Linked DNA regions of Homo sapiens: regions 1, 2 and 3 are each linked to region 4. Evidence: promoter capture Hi-C in 16 types of primary human blood cells and fetal thymus (Javierre and others, 2016). All regions are on one chromosome and are shown on one strand. The core of a region is centred on a gene start or on the middle of the fragment in contact, and the rest is flanking DNA. Distances in the headings are between cores, read along the strand shown.

Region 1 (4,075 bases), core at 1,367-3,866, 500 kb before region 4:
TCCCCCCACCCCATGACAGACCCCAGTGTGTGATGTTCTCCACCCTGTGTCCAAGTGTTTTCATTGTTCCAATTCCCACCTATGAGTGAGAGCACGCGATCTTTGGTTTTCTGTCCTTGCGACAGTTTGCTCAGAATGATGGTTTCCAGCTTCATCCATGTCCCTACAAAGGACATGAACTCATCCTTTTTTATGGCTGCATAGTATTCCATGGTGTATATGTGCCACATTTTCTTAATCCAGTCTATCATTGATGGACATGTGGGTTGGTTCCAAGTCTTTGCTATTATGAATAGTGCCACAATAAACATACGTGTGCATGTCTCTTTATAGCAGCATGATTTATAATCCTTTGGATATACACCAGTAATGGGATGGCTGGGTCAAATGGTATTTCTAGTTCTAGATCCCTGAGGAATCGCCACAGTTTTCCACAATGGTTGAACTAGTTTACAGTCCCACCAACAGTGTAAAAGTGTTCCTATTTCTCCACATCCTCTCCAGCACCTGTTGTTTCCTGACTTTTTAATGATCGCCATTCTAACTGGTGTGGGATGGTATCTCATTGTGGTTTTGATTTGCATTTCTCTGATGGCCAGCGATGATGAGCATTTTTTCTTGTGTCTGTTGGCTGCATAAATGTCTTCTTCTGAGAAGTGTCTGTTCATATCCTTTGCCCACTTTTTGATGGGTTTTTTTCTTGTAAATTTGTTTAAGGTCTTTGCAGATTCTAGATATTAGCCCTTTGTCAGATGGGTAGATTGCAAAAATTCTCTCCCATTCTGTAGGTTGCCTGTTCAGTCTGATGGTAGTTTCTTTTGCTGTGCAGAAGCTCTTTAGTTTAATTAGAGATCCCATTTCTCAATTTTGGCTTTTGTTGCCAATTTCCTTCCTTAGTTTCAATTCCTTGTCCCCATCCCTACCTCCTCTCTCTTCTGTTTAGGTTTCTTTTCTACAGAAAACATATCCCTAGAAATTGTGACTCCTCTTCATGAACTATCTTACTTTCTTAGACCTTCCTTTCAAACACTAAACAAAGATAAATACATTTTATTATCATAGTTAATATTAAAGAATCAAAATTATAACTCAAGCAGTCCCAAGACATATCCAGAAAATGGTTCAGATCGAAGAAATGTCATCTGGACCTTGGACTTGGTATTGCTAGAGGATATGAATTTATGATTCAAAAATAATGAGACAGAAATTAAGAAAATAAAAACTTAATGACAAATGGTAAAAACAAAAAAAAATCCCTAATGACAATTTCGGTTTTTAAAAATTATAGCATTTTCATTCTCAATAAGATATACAGGTAAGCCTCCTAAGAAGTTAAATCCTATGAAGGCCATATCATACTGGCACTTATTAATTGACTCTGTACCTATCAAGGGTAAGGACTTTTCACATTTTTTAAAAAAGTAAAATGGAGGTCTGACACAAATACTGAAAAGTAGCATATATCTTTAGGGCACATTTACAAAACATAAATAACTCTAAGTAGACATTTGAAGTAATTTTTTCTACTTAAGCTCACCTCCTATAATACAGCATTTAGGAAGAGGAACTTAACCTAATGGTAAGCTAGAATACAGAGTAACCCCAAGAGAAGCATGCCTTCTTGGGAACGCTATTGAAGGAAGGTGCTGACTATACCAGTATGAATGTGAACAATTCCAAATATATATACTAAATATTCACTTTCTTTTATTTTTTCTTTGACTGACACTAAATATTGAAACAAAAATGGCTTAGCAACTATAATGCCTAAAAGGGAACTATGATGTAGTATGTATATGTGCATGTGTATACATATCCTAAATATACATATATACAATACTCTTCGTTTATCTGCAGTTTCACTTTCTGCAATTACAGTTACCCACTATCGAATATTGTCTGAACATAGATAAGTATAGTACAATACAATATTTTGAGAGCGAGAGACCGCATTCATATAACTTTTACTACAGTATTTGTTGTTGTTAATCTCTGACTGTGCCTAAGTTCTAAGTTAAACTTTATCACAGGTATGCATGTGTAGGAAAAAACATAGTACAGGCATGTGTTGCCTAATGACGGGGATACATTCTGAGAAATGTGTCATTTGGCCATTTCATTATTGTGCAAATATTATACAGTGTACCTACACAAACCTAGATGGTATAAGCTAACATATATTCCATTTAGGCTATATGGTATAGCCTATTGCTCCTAGGCAACAAACCTGTATAGCATGTTACTTTACTCAATACTGCAGGCAATTGTAACACAATGGGAAGTATTTGTGTCTCTAAACATAAAAAAGTTCAGTAAAAATATAGCATAAAAGATTAAAAAATGAATATCTGTATGGGGAAGTTATCATGAATAGAGCTTGCAGGCCTGGAAGTTGCTCCAGGTGAAACTGTGAGTGAATGTGAAGGCCTCAGACATTACTGTACACTGCTGTAGACTTTATAAACACTATACACAGGCTACACTAAATTTATTTTTAAAATATTTTTTGTTCTGCAATAATTAACCTTAGCTTACTGTAACTTTTTTACTTTATAAACTTTTAAGTTTTAACTTTTTAACTATTTTCTAATAACATTTAGCTTAAAACACAAATACATTGTACAGCTGTATGAAAAATACTTTATATTCTTAATTTTATAAACTTTTTCTACTTCTAAAATTAAAAAAAAATTGTTAAAAACTAAGACCCAAACATACATATTAGCCTAGGCCTACACAGGGTCAGGATCATCAATATCACTGTCTTCCACCTCCACACTTTGTCCCATGGAAAGTCTTCAGGGGCAATGACAGGCAGGGAGCTGGCATCTCCTAAGGTAACAACGTCTTCTTCTGGAATGGCTCCTGAAGGATCTGCCTGAGGCTGTTTTACAGCTTGCCTTTTTTTTTTTTTTTTTTTTTTTAAAGACGGAGTCTCGCTCTGTTGCCCAAGCTGGAGTGCACTGGTGCAATCTCGGCTCACTGCAAGCTCTGCCTCCCAGGTTCATGCCATTCTCCTGCCTCAGCCTCCCAAGTAGCTGGGACTATAGGCGCCCGCCACCACGCCCGGCTAATTTTTTGTATTTTTTTTTTAGTAGACACAGGGTTTCACCATGTTAGCCAGGATGGTCTCGATCTCCTGACCTCGTGATCCACCTGCCTCGGCCTCCCAAAGTGCTGGGATTCAGCTTTTTTTTTTAAACAAGTAGGGGTACATTCTAAAATAATGATAAAAAATCTAGTACAGTAAATACATAAGCCAGTAACACAGTTGTTATCAAGTATTATGTACTGTACATAACTATATATGCTCTACTTTTATACAACAGGCAGTACAGTAGGTCTGTTGACACCAGCATCACCATAAACACGTGAGTAACGTGTTGCGCTATGACATTAGGACGGCCATGATCTCAGTAGGTGACAGAATTTTTTTAGCTCCATTATAATCTTATGGGACCATCATCACATGAGGTCCTTCTTTGACTGGAAAGTTACATGGCACATGACTGTATATATGGGGTTCAGAAATATCCATGGTTTCAGGCACCCACTGGGGGTTTTGGAACATATTGCCTTTGAATAAACGGGACTACTACTACTACTACTACTTACTACTAGTACTACACACACACACACACACACACACACACACAGAGAGAGAGAGAGAGAAGCCTTTTAACCTTCATTCCAGGTTGAATTCCCAGCCTCCCAATGCTTATTACCAATAAAAAGAAGGGAACACCTGCCCCTACATTTGCTGCTGACACAGAGAGACCAGCCTGAAGCAGCCCTCATCTTTTTCCCAGGGACCAATTATCCCTTTCCTAACACCAGCCAAGTTTTGCATTTATACTGGGATTTACAGACCCTGCCCTTTTCTAAATAAAAATTCTTCTCTAAACTCTTAGCAACCAAATTTGGGTCAGAACACTAAGATGGAAGCCAAAATAGTTAAAGAAAATAAAAGTAAAGCCAAAAAAAAAACATTTAATTGTAGATTTTTTAAAAGTCAAGTTACCTAAAAAACTGTATATACAATATTGACTCTCATTTTAGATTGGGGTTGGGAATT
Region 2 (4,048 bases), core at 336-2,835, 450 kb before region 4:
GTGGCTAAGCAACCAGAGGCACTGCAACCAAGGCCATCACCTAACTGCACCCTCACAGCTAATCTACAAGTTCTTTCTTGAAGGGAGATCATAATAGCTCCATATCCCCATATTGGAGAGAATTCTCACTCTGCATTCTGCCAAGGAGCTGGTGTGTGTGTGCGTTTGTGTGTGTGTGTGTGTGTGTATGCACACATGTGACAAAGGTTTATTTAACTTATCAATGAATGAAGAAGGAGAAGAAAAATTACTATATATAGTCAATGAACAAAAAGAATGCTGGAATAAGACTGCAAGTGAAGTTGAAACTGGTAAATTATAAAACAACACAACTATAATCTGTAGGATTTATATTTCCTACTGGACAGAAATGAATTGCAACATAATGATCCTCCACAAGTTAACATTAACTTTACAAGAGTCTCACCTTCATCAATAGCAAATAATCAAAGTAACTTTCTTCCTGTAAAACTTCCCAACTGGGGGAACATTTGCCCTCTCCTCACCCCAGAGATATCTGACAATGTCTGGAGACATTTGTGGCTATCGCAACTAAAGGGATGAAGGTGTGCTACTGGTGTCTGGTGGGCAGGGGCCAGGGATACTGCTAAATGACCTATTACGCCCTGAACAGCCCCCACGGCAAAGAATTACCCAGACCAAAATTTCAATAGCGCCAAGACTGAGAATCGTGTACAGATGACACTTTTGACAGCTTATTAGGCAATGCTCTAGTATGACACCGAAAGGGCGTAAGAAGATCTTTAATGTTTCCTTCTGCTTTCACTTAAATGTAAAATTGGGATAATGATATATCGAAGCAACTTCATTTACGGTGAAGGATGATTAAATAAAACAATTGTGGTTGATTGTATTTTTACAAAGATGATGCACAAATATATATCCCATCCCACATGCTCTTCTTCTGACGTGACACTGACATTCCTGTATTGAGGGGTGGAGGCTATGTTCCCTTCCCTTGAACCTGGGTAGACGTTTGCAATTACCTCTATCAACAGAACACAGCAGAAGTGACATTTCCTGACCTCTGAGGCTGGATCATAAAAAGCAACACGGCTTCCTCCTGGCTCTCTTTCTGGGGACACCACCTTGGATGTTCTGAGCCAACATGAAACAAGTCTGGCTATGCTTGAGAAACCCTAAAGAGGGACTACATAGAGACAGAGAGAAGCTCCCACCCCAGCCTGTCCAGTCTTATCAGCTCAGACACCAGACACGGGAGCGAATGAGGCTTTACAATAACCCCAAGTACTGTCTGATTGCGATCTCATGTGAAAGAAGCCTCCAGGCAGAACCACCCGACAGAGCTCCTTCTGAATTCCTGGCCCATAGACACCGTGGGAGATAATAAATGATTTTGTTGTCTTAAGCTTCTATATTTTAAGATGATTTGTTCCATAGCAACAGACACTAAAACAACCATACAAAAATAGTCCTTAGCACCCTGCATGGAAAGTGAGTTAACTGGTCACTCTTGTGGGGTAGTTTTAGTATTTTTAAGTAATATTTATGTAGTATTTTTACTGTTTCCGTGCGCAAGAGGGCACACTGTCCGTTGACAGCCCTCATACATGGAGGTGTAATTTTCTAATCAAAGCACCAGGTGGAGCCAACCCCTAATTTTTCACTGTCCCTTTCAGAGGGTGAACTTGACAAAATGGAAAAAAGGCTTCAGAATCAAACTAGCATGTTTAGGGCGATGTGTTAGAGAATGCTCAGTATTCTAAATTCTCAAATTCTAAAACACAAGGAAGCTTATTTTGATGAATAACTCATCCCTAGGCAGGGTGTACGCACAAAAAACAAGAAAATCCTTTTTTTTCCTTTGTTAAATGCAACAGAGAAGGTTATGCTTTCTTTAAACCCTGAAAAGGAAAAGAGATCTGCCAGCCTATGATTTCTAAACAATACTGTACTTAATTTTTGCCATTATCTAGACACATAGCTAATGCAAGTCTCTGTTTGCTGTTTGCTTCTGACAGTAAGACAATATTTCTGAATACTGATTTATGGGACTCAGATAACATCTGTACCACAATTTTAGCTTAAACATTTTTAGGTTTACATGTTTTCTAGTCCTTTATTTTGTATACACGAATTTAATGCTCTAGTGGCTGTGAAAATGGGCCATGATTCCGATTGCAGGAAATCTGGGAACCAAATCCCTTAAAATGAATTGGGTGAACCAAATACATTGTATCTCCCTCTTGTCAGAGAAATTCAAAGCAGACTCTACCCATCAGCATTCACTGTAACCTGAGCAGGTTGGCAACCCGTCCTTATTATGATGATCTGCCAGTGCCTATGTAACTCCTGAAGGCTGATGCCTCTACCCTGAGATGGCTCAAGGATGGTTAGGGCAATAGAGCAGTGGTCTTGAGAATAAAGATGGTTTTGTGATCCGCTTATCTGATTAGAGGTTTATACTATAAAGTCAAGGCTTCATAGCCTGGTAGGGGATAAATCAAATGTCAGAAAGGATGGAGGCAGCTTGAACTCTGAAGAGCTGATTTTCTGAGGGTATCCTACAACTTTGACTCCACCCATACCCTAGCTGACCTGTCATCTTGCTAATTAACCACAAGAACTGAGGGAGAAAGTAAGGTGTGATCAGCTCAAGTAAGGCGTGATCAGCTCAAACCCTATCTATCTTATGCTGGGACTAACACAAAAGAAAGCCAAACACAATTATATGGTAAATCAGTAGAATCATGTTCCTACCTAACGTGTGTCTGTCAGGGATGAGACTGATTCCCATGCTTAACTTATGGCCCTGTCTCATCACTTTGTGCTCATAGAATGTATACGTGACATATTTTTCTTTGACACACTAGTACTGGCAAAGGCTGTCTTCTTTGGCTTAACCACAAATTGTGGAGCATGAGAGCCTCAGAACATCTCCAATCTCTCCCAGCTAGTTTCGGAAATTCCCAGGGACAATTGTGCACATGCTCTCGAGAAGTTCCCCTGGATCCTCAAAACAGCCTTGTGAATCCACAGTAGCTATGGTGACAAGCCTGCTGCAACTCTTTAGAGGGTACTTGGCTGGGTCCCACAGTCACTGATACTGACAGCAGGATTTTCGGGTCACTACTAAGCACTTCCCACAAATGGCCATGACCTCATTCCATGCACTTGGTAGCCTGTCAGTGCAGTGGCTAGAGTGTGATGAGGTAGGCAGGGAGGCAGCCTCTGTCCCTGTGACTATTATCCTCCATTGCTAGGCTGTCTTCTTGGGGCTCATCTCCTTAGGGTCCTTTATCATGTCTATGAGGGCCTGTTCAGGCATACAGCAGTATGAGCAGCCATTCGTACTACCCAGTCTCTCCAAAAATGACGAAAAACCATGTTTTGTGGCCCAGATCTGTATACTCTACCTGGGGATGACTTCTTCCTCATAAGGCATTCACTCCTCAGGCAAATAACATACCATGGTAAGCCCACCCTATTGCCCTTGCACCTCCGATGCACCCACATTAGCAGGCTCAGCCCATGCTAGTTCCCAAACTGACCTTGGATTGTTCAAGCAACTTTAAACCCAAACCTACAAAGCTGGTGTGCAGCTCACAGTTTGATGACTATGTAAATTACATCCTGAAATGTCTCTACTAAACATGTGACTGGACACATCTGAATTTACAATGGGCACACGGCATCTTGGTTTCATAGGTGAAAGACTCTGAATAAGTACCTTTTTGGCAATAGTTCAATCTGAAGTGGATTAAGGCAAGATTTAGAATCTTTAAGCAGGGTAGTACTTTTTTCAAACGGGCATGTTTCCAAGGGATGGAGTCACTGGATGGAGTTTCCCAGCATGGCAGCCCTTCTCTGGTGGAGGCAGCTTGCTGAGATCAGGAGGGATGTTCAAAGCAGAAGCCGGCTCGAAGGTTCCGCTCATTTTTATAACAAATTAGCATAGTTCACACCCTCCCCCTCTACATGCCAATGTTAGAATGATCTCATAGGCAGGCCAACTCCACCCTTTTCTGTACCTCTAGACTTCCATTCAACTCATAGAGCTATGCCT
Region 3 (3,540 bases), core at 164-2,663, 490 kb before region 4:
GAGAATTCATCCAGACCACCTTTCTTCACTTATTATGACTTTCTAAGTTTTCATATAACGTACAGAATAAATGTTACCCCATCACTCTTCTCCATATTAAAGTTCTGTCCAATTGGGTACCTAACCCAATCCATCATAAATTGAATTCAACTAGAAATATTAGTTGCATTAAAAAAATTGAAACTCTGAAAGTAAATTTTTCCAATGGTCTTTTTTCTTTCTTTTTTAAAATTATTTTTTAATTTTTTAATTATGGGTACATAATATTACAATTATTTTAAAATTAATTTTTAAGTTTTTAATTATGGGTACGTAATAATTCCATTTATGGTGTACATGTGAGTTTTGATACAGGCATACCATTTATAATGACCAAATCAGGGTAACTGGGATCTCCTTCATCTTAAGAATTCATTATTTCTTTGTGTTAGGAACATTCCAATACCGCTCTTTCAGTTATTTTAAAACATACATTTTTTTAAACTATGGTCACCCTATTGTGCTACAGAATACTAGCTCTTACTCATTTGATCAAACTATAATTTTTGTGCCCATTAACCATTCATTATCTTTTTTTTTTTTTTTGAGACGTAGTTTCACTCTTGTCACCCAGGCTAGAGTGCAGTGGTGTGACCTTGGCTCACTGCAACCTCCGCCTCCCGGGTTCAAGTGATTCTCCTGCCCCAGCCTCCCAAGTAGCTGAGATTACAGGCGTGCACCACCACACCCAGCTAATTTTTGTATTTTTAGTAGAGACGAGGTTTCACCGTGTTGGCCACGCTGGTCTCTAACTCCTGACCTCAAATGATCTGCCCGTCTTGGCCTCCTAAAGTGCCGGAATTACAGGCTTAAGCCACCGGGCCTGGCCTGGTAACCATCATTCTAATCTTTATCTCTGTGCATTTAATTATCTACTTTTTAGCTCCCACATATGAGTGAGAACATATGACATTTGTCTTCTGTGCCTGGCTTATTTCACTTCACGTAATGTCCTCCAGTTCCATCCTAGTTGTTACAAGTGACAAGATTTGATTCTTTTTTATGGCTGAATAATATTACATTGGGTATATGCATCACATTTTCTTTATCCATTCATCCATTGATGGACCCTTAGGTTGATTCCATATCTTGGCCATTATGAATAGTGTTGCAACAAACATGGGAGTGCAGATATCTTCTCAATGTACTAATTTTCATTCCTTTGGAAATACACCAAGCAGTGGGATTGCTGGATCATATGGTAATTCTATTTTTAGTTTTTTGAGGAAACTTAATGCTACTCTCCACAGTGGCTGTACTAATTTACTTTCCCACCAACAGTGTACGAGTGTTCCCCTTTTTCCACATCCTCCCCCATCGTTCATTATTGCCTGTCTTTTGGGTAAAAGCCATTTTAACTGGTGTGAGATGATATCTCATTGTAGTTTTGGTTTGCATGTAACTGATGATTAGTGATGTTGAACATTTTTTCACATACCTGTTGCCCATTTGTATGTCTTCTTTTGAGGAATGTCTATTCAGATCTTCTGCCCATTTTAAAATCAGATTTTTAGACTTGTTTCTTATTGAATTGATTGAGCTCCTTATAAATTGTGCTTATTAATTCCTTGCCAGATGAACAGTTTGCACACATTTCTCCCATTTTGTGGACTGTATCTTAACTTTGTTGATAGTTTCCTTTGCTGTGCAGCTTTTTAGCATGATGGGATTCCAGTTGTCCATTTTTGCTTTGGTTGCCAGTGTTTTTTGAGGTATCACTCAAGAAATCTGTGCCCCGACCAATGTCTTAGAACATTTCCCTGATGTTTTCTTTTAGTAGTTTCATAGTTTGAGGTCTTAGTTAAATTTAAGTCTTCAATCTATTTTGATTTGATTTTTGTATGTGATGAGAGATAAGGGTCTAGTTTCATTCTTTTGCATATGGATATCCAGTTTTCCCAGTGCCATTTATTGAAGAGACTTTCCTTCCCCCAATGTATGTTTTTGGCACCTTTGTCAAAAATGAGTTCACTCTAAATGCAGGGATTGATTTCTGGGTTCTGTATTCTATTCCATTGGTCTATGTGTCAGTATTTATGCCAGTACCAGGCTGTTTGGGTTACAATAGCTTTGTAGTATTAATATAATTTGAAATCAGGTAATGTGATTTCTCCAGTTGTGTTCTTTTTGCTCAGGAGAGCTTTGTCTATTCAAGGTTTTTTGTGGTTCCATATAAATTTTAGGGGTTTTTTTCTATTTCTGTGATGAATATCTAATGTTCATTTTTTATGCCTTCTTAGATAACTTTTTCAAGCTCATATTGTAAATATCTGGGTTAATTGGGAAACTAATGACAATATCTGGCCTATTGTAAAAGTATGAGATTGAACACAAATTTATAATTTTTATCACTTTCATTTCATTATACTAATTATAAGTGTTAAGAAATAGAAGATTTTTTTTCTACCCTCAAAGACCTTAGCATCTATTTAAGGGAGAATAAAACATACATTAGAAACAATAAATAGGTAACAAACTGTTACTGAGAACACATGTATATATATATATATATATATTCTATGTGTTATATAATATTAATAAATATATTTGCATTCTATAATCCATATCACATTATAATTACACATATTATATGCAATATATATAATACATATGTATTATGTTTTATTTGTATAATGTATATAGTCACCCATCACTTAACAATGAGGATTCTTTCTGGGAAATGCATCATTAGTCAATTTTGTCATTGTGTGAACATCATGGAGTGTATTTACACAAATCTAGATAGTATAGCCTACTTCACACCTTTGCTAGATGGTACAGCCTATAGCTCCTAGGCTACAAACCTGTACAGCAGGTTACTGTCCTGAATACCACAGGCAATTGTAACACAATGGGAAGTATTTGTGCATCTAAACACATCTAAATTTAGAAAAGGTACAGTCAAAATATGGCATAAAAGATAAAAATTGGTACAACTCTATAGGACACTTACCATGAATGGAGCTTGTAGGATTGGAAGTTGCTGTGGCTGAGTCAGTGGGTGAGTAGTGAGTGAGTGTGAAGGCCCAGGAACTTACTGTACACTACTGTAAACTCTATAAACACTGCACACTTAGGCTACCTTAAATTTATTTTTAAAATGTTTCTACAATGATAAATTAATCTTAGATTACAGTAACAATTTTACTATATAAACTTTTAAATTTTAAAAGCTTTCTGACTCTTTGTAATAGCAGTTTAAAACACAAACATATTTTACAGCTGTACAAAAATATTTTCATTCTTTCTATCCTTATTCCATAAGCTTTTTTCTGTTTGCAAAACTTTGTCTTTTTTTTTTTTTTTTACCTTTTAGATTCTTTTGTTAAAAACTAAAACACAAACATACGCATTAGCCTAGGCCTAAACAGGGTCAGGCTCGTCAATATCACTGTCTTCCACATCCACATGTTGTGCCATGGACGGTCTTCAGGGGCAGTAACACGCATGGAGCTGTCAAGTCCTATGGTAACAATGCCTTCTTCTGGAATCCCCCCTGAA
Region 4 (3,646 bases), core at 120-2,619:
TCCCATGCTTGAGGGAGAAATGGAAGAAAGTTCATGTAATACTCAGGCAAGTCCAATTTTTTCGACGTCTTTCACTTGGGCCACACACACAACTAAAGTAACTAGAAGCGCAGGCTCTAGGAGGCCACCGTTCTGTTCACAGTGAAGAGGGTGCGCTCACCGTTGGTCGTGTCCGCTGGAAGCCCCGCGTCAGGCCGGGAGCGGGACAGAGACTCTTGCTCAGGGCCGTTATCCGAACTGATCCGCTTCCCACCGCACCCCCAGAGAAACCCACCCAACCCCCTAAACCTAAGAAACCCAGACTGCGCAAACCTGCAGGAACAGAGCCATTTCCCCCTAATGTGTGCTTCAAACCCACCGAAGCCCAACTGTAAGCAAGACCAGCGTGCCCGCCCTGCACGATACTGCTTCTCCCCGCAGCAGCGGCTGCCGATCTGGGCAGCGGGTGGGTATTCCTGGGGCTCCGTGGACGTTGAGCCGCCGCGCGAAACCGGCGCCGGCTGGACCTGCAAATCGCCGCCCGGCCGGCAGGGGACGCCGCGGACGCGAGGGCGAGGTCGGTCGCCCAGGAGGGGGCGCGCGAGGCCGCAGGGGCGGGGGGCGCCGCCTCACTTGCCCTGCGCCCCTCCCCCGCGCGCCCTCCTGGCGCGGCGGCCGGCGAGGCCCCTGTGGGAGAGGGGGCGGGGACGAAACGGCCCCGAGGCTCGGAGCGCCGCGCGGCGGCGGCGCGAGCCCGAGGGGGCGGGGAGGCGCGGGCGGGTGTGCGCGCGCCGGGCGTGGGTGTGGGTGGGGGTAACCGGCGCGGGCGCCGAGATAGCGCCGGGCAGAGGGACCCGGCTACCCTGGACAGCGCATCGCCGCCCGCCCGGGTCGCCGCGCCACAGCCGCTGCGGATCATGGTGAGTGGGGCCGCGCGCCGCCACCGACACCGCCGCGCTTTCTTTCTCTCCTGGACCCACGCACCGGGCGGGAAAGGGCCGAGCGGGCGCCGGCGCGGGCGCTGCGGGTTCGCCGCTGGAACCCGCTACCCTCGGAGGGGCCGGGTCCGCGCGGGCCTGGGGAGCGGGAGCTGAGCGTTTGGGCCGGGGGCGCGCGGGTCGGCCCGAGGCCCGCGGGTCTCGGGAACTTTGTCTCGGTCCCCTCTCCCCGGTCCCGCCCCGGCACCTCGAGGCGCCCGCTCGCGCCCAGTCCCCTGTTGCATGCACGGGGCCGGGCGCCCGGGATGCCCGAGGAAGCCGCCCCTCCTTCGCGGCGGCCATTCCCGCGCGCAGCCCACCCTCCGACCCTCCGGACCCCCGAACCTGCTCTCGCCACCGCCCGCCGACGCCTGGAGCGGAGAACGGCGTTTCCCGCGCGCGGCACACACCCTGCCTCGGGAGTTCTGGGGTTCGGGCCCTAACGGTCAAGCTCTTGCCCCTCTCCTCCCTTCACCGCGCCTGCACCCCGGGGGTGTGTCTGTGCACTCGTGGGTGCCTCCTGGGTTTGCAGATTGGCTTGGGAAGCGGCTGGGTTTCTATCAGTGTCTGGGCTCGGAGGGGCTTCTGGTGTGTTCTTTCCGACAACTCCTCTCTCTGCCCGATTTCCCAGGCCAGTCCTCCACTCTGGATTAGTAACGCTTCTTTCTCCTCGGCAGTAAGCTGTGTGTGTGTGTGTGTGTGTTCACCCGTGTCCGATGAACTGCCTGACAGTAAGCTGTGTGTGTGTGTGTGTGTGTGTGTGTGTTCACCCGTGTCCGATGAACTGCCTGACAGTTTTAGTAGCAGAGCCTGGTTCTTTGGTTACAAAGGGAGAACATCTGTTGTGCCATCCTCAAAGGACTGGTCTTTAGGCAAAATGTGAAATCCGCGTTTGTCTTCAGTGGTCCATATTCAGTGTTTGCCTCACCCCCTTCCCGTAGGGTTTTCTCTCCACTTCAGGACTTGTTAAAATAAGCGCACTTCCTTTCTCTTCCCCACTCCATCTGATTTTGCTCTGGCTACCCTTTTAGGCACGTACCATCTGCCTGATTATGTGTGACCACTTAATCTTAAAATTCCAACCTTTCCTACCCCGCCCACCACAGTGTATATTCCCCTTGCCTGCTTCATTTGTCTTCTCTTGAGCATGTATTAGTTAGCGTACTGCATATTTTGTTTCTTTAGCTTGTTTCTTGAACGTCTCCTCTACCAGAATATAGGTTTCAGGAAGACACAGATTTTTGTCATTTCGTTCATTGCTTGCTAGATTTCTAGTACCTACAGCAGTGCCTGGCGCACAGTAGGTACTTGATAACTCTTTTGAATTAACCCAATAAAGCAAGCTGCTTTATGTTAATGCACAGGTGGGGAGTAACTGCAAAGATTATGCAGTTGACATTTGTAATGATGAGAGTCTCAAGTGAAGTTTGGGAGGAGGGAGATACTCCCGACAGGAGGGACCCGATTTTGGCAGCCTTCAATGACGAGTCTAGGCGGCTATCTCTTATGCCTTGTCTGTCGCTTCATGCTCTTTGCACCTTGGCATCAGAGTGGACAAAGCATTTTTAGGACCAACTGGCTCTCCTTTTGGGCTCTGAAGCTTTGTCCTAAAGTATAGGTAGGAATTGTAGTGAGTAAGGGAATAAGTCCAAGGAAATCTCTTTAGCTGAATAGGAAAGTCATGGGAATGTTAACCTAAAAGAGCTAAAATCAAGGGCAAGCTCTTGAAAGCTTTATCCTGCCCAAGTGTGATGCTTCCTGTTTAGATAAGTATTTCTCAGAAACTGTGGGTCTTCAGAGGAATTTTTTTTTAATACCCAAATCCAAATTGTATTACTTTTTTCTTCTTTCTTTTTTTGTGGCAGGGTCTCACTCTGTCACCCAGGCTGGCATGCAGTGATGCAATCTTGGCTCACTGCAACCTCCACCTCCTGGGCTCAAGTGATTCTCGTGCCTCAGCCTCCTGAGTAGCTGGGATTACAGGCGCACGTCACCACACCAGGCCAATCTGTGTATTTTTGGTAGAGACAGAGTTTCACCATGTTGTCCAGTTTGGTCTCTAACTCCTGACCTCAAGTGATCAACACCCACCTCGGCTTCCCAAAGTGCTGGAATTACAAGGCATGAGCCACCATGCCCGGCTGAAATCGTATTACTTTAAAAAAAAAATGGGCAGGGAGTAGGAAAGTTAGGGGGTTGAATTTATAAATAACTTAGTGGGTCAGTTCAGAGAGACATCCTTTTCAATACATGTCCAATATGAACTGTCTTGTAAGATATCTCTGCTAGTTAGTCTTATTATTCCAAAATAAATATTTTTTCTTTCAAATTTCCTTTTGTTTTTCTATAATGTGGATTTATGGCATTGGTTTTTTAAAAATTAGTCTGGAGAAATGTATTAATTGGAAACAAATTGTTTAATAAAATTTACATAAGTTTTTGAAAATTATGTAATTATAGCTATGACTATGTAAGTTCAGCAGTTCTGTGGTTACCATCTTTCCCAGGTAGGTAGTAGAAATTAAAGGTAAAAAGGAAAGAAATATAAGTTTGTCTTTGAAATTAAAACCAATGAACCAACCAAAGATGAATGAAAGATACCTTATTGACTTAAGTTTCTATTTGTAGGATATTTTACTGTTAGGATTCCTAGGATTCCAAAGTATCCAGCCTTTTTCTCTTTCGATTCT

Evidence for each region. Contacts are between HindIII fragments. The CHiCAGO score rates a contact against its expected background, and 5 or more counts as called.
Region 1: a fragment that was not itself captured here is called in contact with the fragment with the promoter of ELOVL2-AS1 in region 4 in 2 of 17 cell types (endothelial precursors and fetal thymus); the score reaches 7.5 in endothelial precursors.
Region 2: a fragment that was not itself captured here is called in contact with the fragment with the promoter of ELOVL2-AS1 in region 4 in 8 of 17 cell types (fetal thymus, M1 macrophages, megakaryocytes and 5 more); the score reaches 13.1 in fetal thymus.
Region 3: a contact is called between a fragment that was not itself captured here and the fragment with the promoter of ELOVL2-AS1 in region 4, in 3 of 17 cell types (endothelial precursors, fetal thymus and activated CD4 T cells). The highest score is 7.6, in endothelial precursors.

The regions. Positions count from the first base shown.
Region 1 is chr6:11,544,862-11,548,936 of GRCh38, reverse strand. All of the region lies in intron 1 of TMEM170B (transmembrane protein 170B), which reads right to left. Among named protein-coding and RNA genes, the nearest start is that of TMEM170B, 9.2 kb to the right of the region's middle. The HindIII fragment of the contact is 9,162 bases long and covers 1-4,075 here.
Region 2 is chr6:11,493,961-11,498,008 of GRCh38, reverse strand. The region is part of intron 3 of LOC105374928 (a long non-coding RNA gene); the gene reads right to left. Among named protein-coding and RNA genes, the nearest start is that of TMEM170B, 42 kb to the left of the region's middle. The HindIII fragment of the contact is 384 bases long and covers 1,394-1,777 here.
Region 3 is chr6:11,526,971-11,530,510 of GRCh38, reverse strand. No RefSeq gene overlaps it. Among named protein-coding and RNA genes, the nearest start is that of TMEM170B, 9.0 kb to the left of the region's middle. The HindIII fragment of the contact is 3,603 bases long and covers 1-3,214 here.
Region 4 is chr6:11,041,481-11,045,126 of GRCh38, reverse strand. ELOVL2-AS1 (ELOVL2 antisense RNA 1) reads right to left here and starts at 1,369. Exons shown (of 5, transcript NR_038964.1): 1 at 1,302-1,369. It overlaps ELOVL2 (ELOVL fatty acid elongase 2), which reads left to right and starts at 822. Exons shown (of 8, transcript NM_017770.4): 1 at 822-899. The coding sequence starts at 897. RefSeq lists an enhancer at 1-292 and a silencer at 727-926. The HindIII fragment of the contact is 4,245 bases long and covers 1-2,558 here.